2 separate regions of the Homo sapiens genome follow, and region 1 is linked to region 2. Evidence: promoter capture Hi-C in human tissues and cell types (Jung and others, 2019). All regions are on one chromosome and are shown on one strand. Each heading gives the region's core, a stretch centred on a gene start or on the middle of the fragment in contact. The rest is flanking DNA. Distances are from core to core; before and after follow the strand shown.

The links. Contacts are between HindIII fragments. The study calls those that stand out against the background at their distance.
Region 1: a fragment that was not itself captured here is called in contact with the fragment with the promoter of NXF1 in region 2 in 1 of the 25 tissues and cell types used here (stomach).

The regions. Positions count from the first base shown.
Region 1 is chr11:62,740,123-62,746,218 of GRCh38, forward strand. No RefSeq gene overlaps it. Among named protein-coding and RNA genes, the nearest start is that of ZBTB3, 11 kb to the right of the region's middle. The HindIII fragment of the contact is 7,631 bases long and covers 1-6,096 here.
Region 2 is chr11:62,802,428-62,808,506 of GRCh38, forward strand. NXF1 (nuclear RNA export factor 1) reads right to left here and starts at 3,013. Exons shown (of 21, transcript NM_006362.5): 1 at 2,902-3,013; 2 at 1,365-1,551; 3 at 992-1,145. The coding sequence starts at 2,929. STX5 (syntaxin 5) reads right to left here. Exons shown (of 11, transcript NM_003164.5): 11 at 4,433-5,201. The coding sequence ends at 5,042. RefSeq lists enhancers at 2,806-3,305, 3,272-3,461, 3,482-3,531. The HindIII fragment of the contact is 17,631 bases long and covers 1-6,079 here.

The sequences.
Region 1 (6,096 bases), core at 1,099-3,598, 63 kb before region 2:
AGCCCCTGTTAAATTAATTTCTTATTCTCCTTAATATTCCATACACATTCAGATTCCTTCTCCCCTACAAAAATATTTGCTATTTTGTCCTTGCTATTTCTCATACTTAGATCATTCATACACTATATTTATTTTTTCATTAAACTATTTTAAAACCTTTGGAGTAAAGCATTTAAGTATTTATTTAATAAACCCTTCAGACCTCATGCTAAAGAAAACACCTAAGTGAACATTTTAAATTTTAATAGGTGCTTATCTATAGTATCCTCATTTCTCTTAAAAAAAAAAAAAAAAAAAAAAAAAAAAAAAAAGACCATCCTGGCTAACACGGTGAAACTCCGTCTCTACTAAAAATACAAAAAAAAAAAATTAGCTGGGCTTGGTAGCGTGTGCCTGTAGTCCCAGCTACTCGGGAGGCTGAGGCAGGAGAATGGCGTGAACTCAGGAGGTGGAGCTTGCAGTGAGCCGAGATCACGCCACTGCACTCCAGCCTGGGTGACAGAGAGAGACTCCATCTCAAAAAAAAGAAAAGATTATCACATCTTCTAAAAACATACATACTAGCCGGGTACGGTGGCTCATGCCTGTAATCCCAACACATTGGGAGTCTGAGGCGGGTGGATCACTTGAGGTCCGGAGTTCAAGACCAGCCTGGCCAACATGGCGAAACCCCATCTCTACTAAACTGCTGGGGAGGCTGAGGCGGGAGGATCACTTGAACCTAGAAGCCGGAGGTTGCGGTGATCTGAGATTGCGCCACTGCACTCCAGCCTGCGGCAGTGAGACTGTCTCAAAAAAAAAAAAAAGAAACATACATAATAGAGCAGAATAAAAACAAACCTGTCCTTTACCTGTCATCTCATATTTTGCAAGGGCTGAGGTCCTCACAGAGAAGAGAAATAGGCTGGGCGCTGTGGCTCATGCTTGTAATCCCAGCACTTTGGGAGGCTGGATCACCTGAGGTCAGGAGTTTGAGACCAGCCTGGTCAACATGGTGAAACCCCATCTCTACTAAAAATAGAAAAAAATAACCAGGTGTGGTGGTGTGCACTCTGTAACCCCAGCTACTCAGGAGGCTGAGACAGGAGAATCGCTTGAAACGCAGGAGGCGGAGGTTGCAGTAAGCAGAGATTGCATGCCACTGCACTCCAGCCTGGGCAACAAGAGTGAAACTCCATCTCAAAAAACAAAACAAAAAAAAAATGAGGAAGGGCATTTCTTGCTTAGTGCCTTTTAAACACCTGATAGAACTCTCTGGAAGCTGTGTTGGACATGGGTGCAAGTTGCAGTATGGTGCAGTCCTGGCTCAGTAGGAGGTTCCATCAACCAGGAGCCCCTTTGTTATTCTGTTTCTGTTTTTTCATGGTGGATAATGTCTATGATGTTGTGGGTACTACATAGGTGAGACTATATAGCACAGCCTCTACCTTTATAAGTGGTGGCAATAAGCATGTGATTAACTGTCATACAACCACAGAGCAAACAGATTTCAGGGAAAAAAAAACACACTTTAGTCCTTTATCAATAACGCCCCCTTTCTCAATGGGCTAGACTCCTCTTTGTTCTTCCCTATACCTTTAAAGAATACAACTATCAGCTTACAAGAAAAACTTTTCCTAAGTCCAAGGACAGGAGAGGCGCAGTGGCTCACCCCTGCAATTCCAGCAATTTGGGAGGCCAAGGTGGGTGGATCACCTGAGGTCAGGAGTTCGAGACCAGCCTGACTGACATAATGAAACCCCATCGCTACTAAAAAAAATACAAAATTAGCCAGGTGTAGTGGCACGTGCCTGTAATCCCAGCTACTCAGGAGGCTGAGGCAGGAGAATTGTTTGAGCCCAGGAGGTGGAGGATGCAGTGAGCCAAGGTCATGCCATTACACGCCAGCCTGGTCAACCAGAGCAAAACCGTCTCAATCAATCAATCAATCAATCAAGTCCAAGGACAGAACAAACAAAAGTAAAATACCTTATTCCTCTTCTAAGCTTCTTAAATTGCTAGGCCTTGGTTTATTGACAAAATATTGTCATGATTGCATGTTTTATTTGCTTTACAATGGTTTCGTGGTCTTATTTTATTTCAAACACTTGATGTTATAGTAAGCTATCTTCTGCATCAATGAGGAAAAAATAAAACTGATATTTAAAAATGCATTTTAGAAATTTGGTGCAGTGGCCAGGCGCGGTGGCTCACGCCTGTAATCCCAGCACTTTGGGAGGCTGAGGCGGGTGGATCACAAGGTCAGGAGATCGAGACCATCCTAGCTAACACAGTGAAACCCCATCTCTGCTAAAAATACAAAAAATTAGCCGGGCGTGGTGGCGGGCACCTGTAGTCCCAGCTACTCGGGAGGCTGAGGCAGGAGAATGGCATGAACCCGGGAGGCAGAGCTTGCAGTGAGCCGAGATTGCGCCACTGCACTCCAGCCTGGGCGACATAGCAAGACTCTGTCTCAAAAAAAAAAAAAAAATTGTTGCACTAATCCTTTTATTAGCGCTGCTAAGAGATAGCACAGGGTCAGGCTTACATTTGTGTTTTATTGAGAAGCCCAGCTCCTAATGGAAATCTTAATGAACAGGGAAATGACAAAGGCAGTCTGATGCAGGTCTTGAGGACGTCCTCAAGGTCCTGAGGGAACCAGCCAGAGAGTGCCTCAACCTCTGTATTCAGAAGTTTGTGGAAGGAGAGGCTGCGCACTTTATCAGTCCTTGTTTCCACAGAGGATTTGAATATTTTGAATGAAGAAAAAGCATTCATGGTGAATGTGAAGGATTATATACCTTGGCACATGAGGGACACTGTTTCCCAAACTCATACCCACCACCTTCACAATGTTGCCAAAACCACTCACTACCTGTACTAATATATATGGATGTGTGTAGAAATATATGTGTGTGTGTATATATATATATATAGACAGTCTGGCTCTGCTGCCCAGGCTGCAGTGCAGTGGCACAATCTTGGCTCACTGCAACTTCCACATCCCAGGTTCAAGCAATTCTGCCTCAGCCTTCCAAGTAGCATGCACCACCATGCCTGGCTAAATTCTTTTTGTATTTTTAGTAGATACGGGGTTTCACCATGTTGGTCAGGCTGGTTTCAAACTCCTGACTTCAGGTGATCCACCCACCTCGGCCTCCTAAAGTTCTGGGATTATAGGCGTGAGCCATGGAGCCCAGTGTATTTTTTTTTTTTTTTTTTTTTTTGAGACGGAGTCTCACTCTGTTGCCAGGCTAGAGTGCAGTGGTGCGATCTCGGCTCATTGCAACCTCTGCCTCCTGGGTTCAAGCGATTCTGCTGTGTCAGCCTCCCAAGTAGCTGGGACTACAGGCACCCACCACCATGTCCAGCTAATTTTTGTCTTTAGTAGAGAAGGGGTTTCACCATCTTGGCCAGGATGGTCTGGATCTCTTGACCTCATGATCTGCCCACCTCAGCCTCCCAAAGTGCCAGGATTACAGGCATGAGCCACCACCCCCGGCCTATTTTTTTTTTTTTTTTTTTTTTTTAGAGACAGGGTCTTGCTCTGTAGCCCAGACTGGAGTGCAGTGGTGTGATCATAGCCTTGAACTCCTGGGCTCAAGGGATCCTCCTGCATCAACCTCTTGAGTAGCTGGGATTACAGCTTGAAGCACCTTGCCTGGCCCTAAATAAATATTTTTAAAGGAACCTTTGGACAGAGGAATATGTTAAATGAAACTACGGGGATGTAAGCAGCAAACTCCAGACCCTCAACCCGTAAAACAACCCCAGCTTCTTCAACAAATAAATTGCAAGGAAAAAGGGAAGGGAAACCTAGTAAAACTTAAGGCCAGGTTCAGTGGCGCACGCCAATGATCCTAGAACTTTGGGAGGCTGAAGGGGACAGATCTTTTGAGCCCAGGAGTTTGAGACCAATGTGGGCAACATGGCAAAACCCTCTGTCTACAAAAGATAGAAAAATTAGCTGCCACTAGGGTGCATGCCTGTAATCCCAGATATTCAAGAGGCTAAGGTGGGAGGATCACTTGAGCCCAAAAGGTTGAGGTTGCAGTGAGCTAAAATTGTGCCACTGCACTGAAGCCTGGGCAACAGAGTGAGACCCTGTCTCAAAAAGAAAAAGACAGTTAAGAGACATCAATCAAATAAATGCATGACACTACTTTGGATTCTAATTGGATTCTCATTGGGAAAAAGAGAAACTTGAGTAAGAATTATTGTCAGGGCCGGGTGCGGTGGCTCACACCTGTAATCCCAGCACTTTGGGAGGCCCAGGCGGGCGGATCACAAGGTCAGGAGATGGAGACCACGGTGAAACCCCGTCTGTACTAAAAATACACACAAAAAAATTAGCCGGGCGTGGTGGCGGGGCGCCTGTAGTCCCAGCTACTTGGGAGGCTGAGGCAGGAGAATGGCTTGAACCCGGGAGGCAGAGCTTGCAGTGAGCCGAGATCGCGCCACTGCACTCCAGCCTGGGTGACAGAGCGAGACTCCATCTCAAAAAATAAATAAATAAATAAATAATTGTCGGAGCCAGGGGTGGTGGCTCATGCCTGTAATCCCAGCACTTTGGGAGGCTGAGGCGGGCGGATTCCAAGGTCAAGAGATCGAGACCATCCTGGCTAACACGGTGTAACCCTGACTGTACTGAAAATACAGAATTAGCGGGATGTGTTGGCGGACGCCTGTAATTCCAGCTACTCGGGAGACTGAGGCAGGAGAATCGCTTGAACCCGGGAGGTGGAGGTTGCGGTGAGCCGAGATGGCGCAACTGCACTCCAGCCTGGGCAAGAGCAAAACTCTTATCTAAAAAAAAAAAAAAAAGGCCGGGTGCGTTGGCTTACGCCTGTAATCCCAACACTTTGGGAGGCCGAGGCGGGTGGATCACGAGGTCAGAAGATCCAGACCATCCTGGCTAACACAGTGAAACACCGTCTCTACTAAAAATAGAAAAAAAATGAGCTAGGCGTGGTGGCGGGCGCCTGTAGTCCCAGCTACTTGGGAGGCTGAGGCAGGAGAATGGTGTGAGCCCGGGAGGCAGAGCTTGCAGTGAGCCGAGATCACACCACTGCACTCCAGCCTGGGCGACCGAGCAAGACTCTGTCTCAAAAAAAAAAAAAAAAAAAGAATTATTGTCAGTTTTCTTGAGTGTGATAATAGTATTTAGTCTGCTGAAATTGCTTGCTGATGAAATTGTACAGGGCACTGTACAGCACTTCATATCACTTGACCCAATACACAAAAAAACTCAGGAGTCTGAAGTGGGAGAATCACTTGAGCCTAGGAGTTCAAGAGCACCCTGGGCAACATAGACCCCATCTCGAAAAACTAAAATAAGTGGCCGGGTGCGGTGGCTCACGCCTGTAATCCCAGCACTTTGGGAGGCCAAGGCGGGCAGATCACGAGATCAGGAGATCGAGACCATCCTGGCTAACACGGTGAAACCCCGTCTCTACAAAAAATACAAAAAATTAGTCAGGCGTGGTGGCACACGCCTGTAATCCCAGCTACTCGGGAAGCTGAGGCAGGAGAATGGCGTGAACTCAGGAGGCGGAGCTTACAGTGAGCCGAGATCACGCCCCTGCACTCCAGCCTGGGCTACGGAGCTAGACTCCGTCTCAAAAAAAAAAAAAAAAAGAAAAGAAAAAAGAAAACTAAGTCAGTTTATAGCTCACAAGCACACATTTTCAGTATGAAACTTAATAGGCTGGGGCCTGGTCCATACTCCTATAAAGGGAGACAGATTTTGGCTCAGTCTAAGGAAATCCAACAACTAGGACACCAACAATAGGTTTCCTTTGGGAAAGAGTTTTTTGGGTTTTTTTTTTTTTTTTTTGAGACAGAGTCTCGCTCTGTCGCCCAGACTGGAGTGCAGTGGCGTGATCTCGGCTCACTGCAAGCTCCGCCTCCCAGGTTCACTCCATTCTCCTGCCTCAGCCTCCTGAGTAGCTGGGACTACAGGCTCCCGCCACCACGCCTGGCTAACTTTTTGCATTTTTAGTAGAGACGGGGTTTCACCGTGTTAGCCAGGATTGTCTCGATCTCCTGACCTTGTGATCCGCCTGCCTCGGCCTCCCAAAGTGCTGGGATTACAGGCGTGAGCCACCACGCCAGGCC
Region 2 (6,079 bases), core at 1,763-4,262:
TCTACTTACACTTACTATTTTTTCTTAGTAACAGGGCCTCACTCTGTCACTCAGGCTGGAGTGCAGTGGTGCGATCATAGCTCACTGCAGCCTTCATTTCCTAGGCTCAAGCGATCCTCCTGTCTCAGCTTTCTGGAGTAGCTAGGACTACAGGCATGTACTACCATGCCCGGCTAATTTTAAAATTTTCTGTAGAGAAGGGGTCTTGCTGTATTTCCCAGACTGGTCTTGAACTCCCAGCCTCAAGTGATCCTCCACCTCGGCCTCTCAAAGTGCTGGGATTACAGGCATGAGCCACTGTACCCAGCCCATTTACACTTATAATCTCTCAAAAAAAAATCAATTTTATTTATTCTAAAAGTTCCAAGATATTATTTACACCTTGCCTGCCCCTCAGAGAACTCCAGGGCACTCCAGGGACTCCAAGCCCCACACTCAGCCTGAGCCAAATGAAGACATCCAGAGGAATTACTCCCTCCCCCAACCAAAATTTTCATATTTCTCTTCCACCCCTTCTCTGAACCTGCTCTAAGGTGTTGGAAGATACTGATTCCTAGGAGAAAAGATAGATACTTGAGTGTGGAGTAATCAGATGACAAGGAGAATTTTTGGGCTGGGTGCGGTGGCTCATGCCTATAATCCCAGCACTTTGGGGGGCCAAGGCGGGCAGATCATGACGTCAGGAGTTCGAGACCAGCCTGGCCAATACAGTGAAACCCCGTCTCTACTAAAAATACAAAAATTAGCCGGGCGTGGTGGTGGGTGTCTGTAGTCCCAGCTACTCGGGAGACTGAGGCAGAATAGCTTGAACCCGGGAGGCGGAGGCTGCAGTGAGCCGAGATCACGCCACTGTACTCCAGCCTGGGTGACAGAGCAAGACTCCATTTAAAAAAAATAATAATAATAATTTTTGTGGAATAAAATTAAACATCTCCACTCTCAGCGTGGCCTCCTATCTCTACTGTACCATCTACTTTCTCAAAGTACTCACTGTAATCTTGAACCAGTTCTTTGAGGTCCCATCCTGGCTGGTGCCAGCCCCTCCTCTCTCTGGAGGAGCTCTGTCTCTCCGCACAGTAACATGAATGCGATCTCGATCATGCCAAGTATCACCCCGACGGTTAGGTCGGGTGGTATAGGGGTTGCTGTGGGTAAGCAGAGAATAAAATGACCACAAATGCTAGGAAAGTCTTCTCAAAGGCCTTCCTGCACTGTTAGTGGGACTACAACTAAGACTGTTTAATCACTAAGCTAGTCCTGGCATTTCTCACTCTAACAGGTGGGAAAGGAAATGACATGGACAGTAAAAGGGCCATATAATCTCATGAGCCACTAAATTCAAACCAGACCAACTGGTCACTCACTATCGTACTCGGGGACCATCCTGGGCATCACTCATTGCCACATCTCCATCATCTTCCTCAAGGCGGGAAGACCGAATACCAGAACCGCCTCTTCCAGACCTACGGTTTCCTTCACCATATTTCCACCGGAAGGGACCCCGGCCTTTCTTCTTTCTTTGAGGGAAATTAACGCGTTCATCATCGTGTTCTAGAGTTAGAAACAGGAACACAAATTAGAAGTAAGTAACTGGTCCGGTTTGGTGTGGCAATCATAGCTTCTAGTACTCTGAACTATTGGAAGAGATACATACTAACGACAGAGGCCATCTCCATGCAAACTCCGCTCCCTATCCACAGGAAAGAACCCTCTCTGTGGGAGGGCAGCATCAGGGAAAAGTTACTGGAAAACTGTGTAGGGCTTTTGAAAAATGAAGTAGAAACTGGAATTAGAGAGAAGCAGGATGTAGAAATGTGAGACCCAAAAGTGTAACTGAACACAAATCAGACCTCTGAAAGCCACCTGAAATCTGCCACTCAGTACTTTGTCTATACAGTGCAGACGCCAGTTACAAATATGACCAGTTTAAGGATCCTCTAAAAATTCTCCTTGTTCTCAAACTGCCACTTTGAAGTTTTGTGAGGAGCTCTTCGTTTCCATGGCCAGAAATGTCCTTTAACTCAGGAGACAAATTCTAGACTCAGGCTCTAGTGGCAGTGCCAGGCTAGGGTGCTTAACCAGGGACCCTGGAATGCTCTCCAGGAAGATGACCTTCTGATTCATGCTGTGTAGGACTGGCGTCTTAAAAAAGGTCCCTAACTCCCAAAAGAGGTCTGCCTAATACCCAGCACTCTGTAAACAATGAATCTCAACAAATGACCCTAGGAAAAAAGAACATAGAAGGCGCAGCTAACATTCACTGAGAACTTTCTCCAGTGCCGGCCACTATGCTTCAGGCACTTGATAGGAATGATCTCATTTCCCCTCCCCACACACACTCTTAAGAAATGCTGTTGTTATTCCACATTAAGGGGGTGGAAAACGAGAGTTTTAAATTCACGGTTTCAACCTCCACCACGCACTCCTAACTTACTACAAAGAACTAACACCCAGTGTAGTGTTCAGACTAGAATATCCAGTTGATGTGTAAGTCTCGAATATTAAGCCAAAGCCCAGGCCCGAGAGTTCAAGACCGACTGGACGCAGTAAAAAATAGGGCATCAGGGCAGCCCACGAGCAGGGCACTCACTCACATTAAAGGAAGAGTCAGGCCGCCAAACCTAACTGACAGGCATCAACCACCCACAAAGTTCAAAGGAATCCCGTCACCCTACCCCCGAGCCATCCGCTCCGAGCCGCAGGTCCCCCAACACCAGGATGCCAGCAGGAATCCAGGAGTCAACAACTCGGGTGTCCACCTCGAGTGCCCGGCCCCCCGCGCGCCGCTCCCCGCGGACGCCGGGCCCCTAGCGGCCTCACGCCCCGGGGGCTGAGGCCTAGGCCGGCGCCGCCCACCCGCGCCCCAGATAGCCAGTTCCCGACCCGAAGACCAGCACTTACCGCTGTACGACTTCCCCTCGTCCGCCATGCCACAGCGAAGATCAAGGGCGGGCTCAGGCGCTGGCCGCTACGCCGGCAAACAACCTAACTCCCAAGCGCTCAGGACCGAAGTGTCCCTACGCCGGGCGCCACCGCATTTATACAGCAAAGCACGTCGCGCGCCGCTGACGTCCCAGGCTGTGGGCGGTGCCGCCGCCCGGAGAAAGCGCGGCCCCCTGCGCGTGCGCACACTTAAGGCCGTCGTTCGAGGGGCGGGGCCTGGCCCTCCACGCCCCGCCCAAGACCTGAACTTGCGGAACCCCGGCTGGCAGCCAGCATGTCCCCGCACCTTTTCATCTGTCCGCTGACGCTGCCCTGGCAGCTTCAGAGTTAGTGCTAGAGCACAGTGCTGCCGCCGCAGCCCAGAACTCAGTGAGGAAGGGGGCCGCACAAAGGGCTTCAGAGGAATGGAGACCGCGCCTCCAGGTGGGAGTGATGGCTCAGACCCCTACCGGAATCTAGCCAGTGTTTCAGCTCGGCTCCTTGTCTATACCTCGCTTTCTTCGCCTATAAGATGGATTAACAAATCACGAAGTTGAGAATTAGAATGTGAGCTCGAACGTTGACTAATTAAGGGCTTTTTTTCCTCGAGGGCTTGACTCGGCAGGTACTATGCCTGGCACATGGTAAAAACTCAACATATATTTGTGAAATAAATGAATTTGTGTTATGAATTTCCCCCACCCCGCCCCGCCCTGAGTTGCTGAGTCAAATGATACGACATCTGTCAGGGGTTTGGCGAGCATTGTCTTCACAGACCTTCCATCAATGGCGTCCCCTACTAGAAACCCATCGTGTCAACGGGGCAGACAGTGAAGCTCACCAGCAGTGGCAACTTGCTGGAGATGCCGAGGAGGACATTTTAAAATATCAGGGCCTTGGGCTCTCCTAGACCCCCAAAAGCACCACCACCAGCCCCTGACTGTTGTCTCTATAGCTTCAACTTCCTTTGGAATGTATGAGACAGGGGCACTCGAGTGACCTCAGAATGTGGTTGTGAGTCTCGGTCAGGAAGAACAAAGCACACTAATCTCCCTGGACGGTGGGTATTCTGGGCAGGTGTCTCCATTCTCTGTGACTGGCTTTGATTTGGTGAAGTGCTTGGAGGGAATCAAAAGCCTCAACTGGAGTTGGGAACAAATTCTTCACCTTCCACTCCTGGAAGCAGGCAGAGCTTCTGCCTCGCTTAGCTCAAGGAAGAATTACGGCCAAATAGTTGGAGGATACAGATGAAACAGGTCCAAACACTGCTTGAGATAGTCCTGGAAGTTGCCCCCAATCAGGGACCCCCTCTGGGATCCTGCTCCCCTGTGTGAAAGGAAGTTTCCACGCTAATGAAGTGTTGCAACACTTGGTTCTCCCCTGCCTAGAGGCAGCTGTGTGTCAGAGCCCAAAATAGCCTGTGTCAGCAGTGATACCTGGCAGAGCCATTAGCCCAACCCTTTCAGTTCTGGTACTGGGCAGTGGGCTCTCTCCACTCGCTGCCTAGGCCCTTCGACGCTCCCACCCAGAAATGATGACATGGCTAGTGAGGCTGACAGTCTTGCTGTAATTGGGAGAAAACGAGCTGCAGCACATTTGGCAGATTGAGTCACCAGCAGCCAATGTCAGGGGTTGTGCAGGCAGCTGAAGGGCTCAGGGCTCCCTGCCTCACATGGTGAAAGAGGAAGAAAGAGGTCAATTGGGAAAATTGGTCCCTGGGGCTGCTTCCTCTCTTCACTCACAGGAAGGTGGGTAAGGGCATCATCTCCCTTTGCTGCCAACGCTTCCTTTGGGAGAGGCTGGAGAGGGTTTATAAAAATCTCCTAGTGGAAACAACCTCCCCCACTGGCCCCCAGCTGGCCTCTGCTCCCTTCCAGTCACTTCACAGCAGAGTTCAAATCTAGAACCCTGTGTGTTTCATAGGCCTGAGGGTGGTGGGGGGAGGACAGGGTGGCCAGAGGCAAGGGGTGGGGGATCAGGGGCAGTGGTCATTCTTAGCAGTTCCAGGGAAACAGGGCCTTTCTCCCAAGTACCCTGCACAGGCTCAGTGGCAGCACTGGCCACTTGCCTTCCCAGGAGGGTCCCAAACCCCAACAGAGTGCCTCAGAGTAGAGAGGGTTCAAGCAAGGAAGACCACAAAGATGATGAAGAAGACAATGAGGATGAGGAAGATTTTGACCATGAGCCACCGGTTGGAGGTGACAGACTGGAAGTACTTGAGGATCTCTGAATGGGCGGCCTCAACGTCCAGCTGGGCTCCTAGCACGTTCTCGTCGATCCTGGGGACAAGGCCGGGAGAAGAGGAAACAAAAGGACACTGGATTAAAAAGAATGCTGTTGAAGTCCATTTATTGACATGGAAAGATGGTCACAATATGATCCCATTCTTATATATATTTGTGTATAGAAAAGGCTTTGGAAGGGTACTATAAACAAGTTATTTCTGGTTTGAAAACCAACTCTGCCATTTATTAGCTTAAGACTCTAAGTTAGTCTAACTTCAAGCTTCATTTTCCTCACCGGCAAAATGAGGATAACCCAAACCCTACCTTCTCTCAGGCTACTGTCTGTCTTCAATGAGTTAGTATAAAGTCCCTAACCCACAAGAGCCCCGAAAATGTTAGTTACAATTTTTCCTCATCAGTATTTACATTTTTATCTGGTGAGTATGTATTATATTTATTGTAAGGGGAAAAATGTTCACAGACCATTGCAGTCAGGAAATCATGGTTCTGAGTGAAAAAGGAAAACATAATGACACGGACAGGAAATCAGGGGATAAAAAAAGCTCTATGGCCAACCATGGTGGCTCAGGCCAGTAATCCCAGCACTTTGGGAGGCTGAGGTGGGCAGATGGCTTGAGCTCACGAGTTTGAGACCAGCCTAGGCAACATGGCAAAACCCCATCTCTGCAAAAAATACAAAAATTAGCTGGGTGTGCTGGTGTGACCCTACAGTCCCAGCTACTCGGGAGGCTGAGGTGGGAGGATAGCTTGAACCCAGGAGGTTGAGGAGCTTGATGCTGCAGTGAGATTGTGCCACTGCACTCCAGCATGGGTGACATAGCAAGACTGCCTCAGGGGGAAAAAAAAAAAAAAACACCAAAAAAAAAGGTATATGGACCCTAGTTTTGGCCAGGCTGTAATCCCAGCACTTT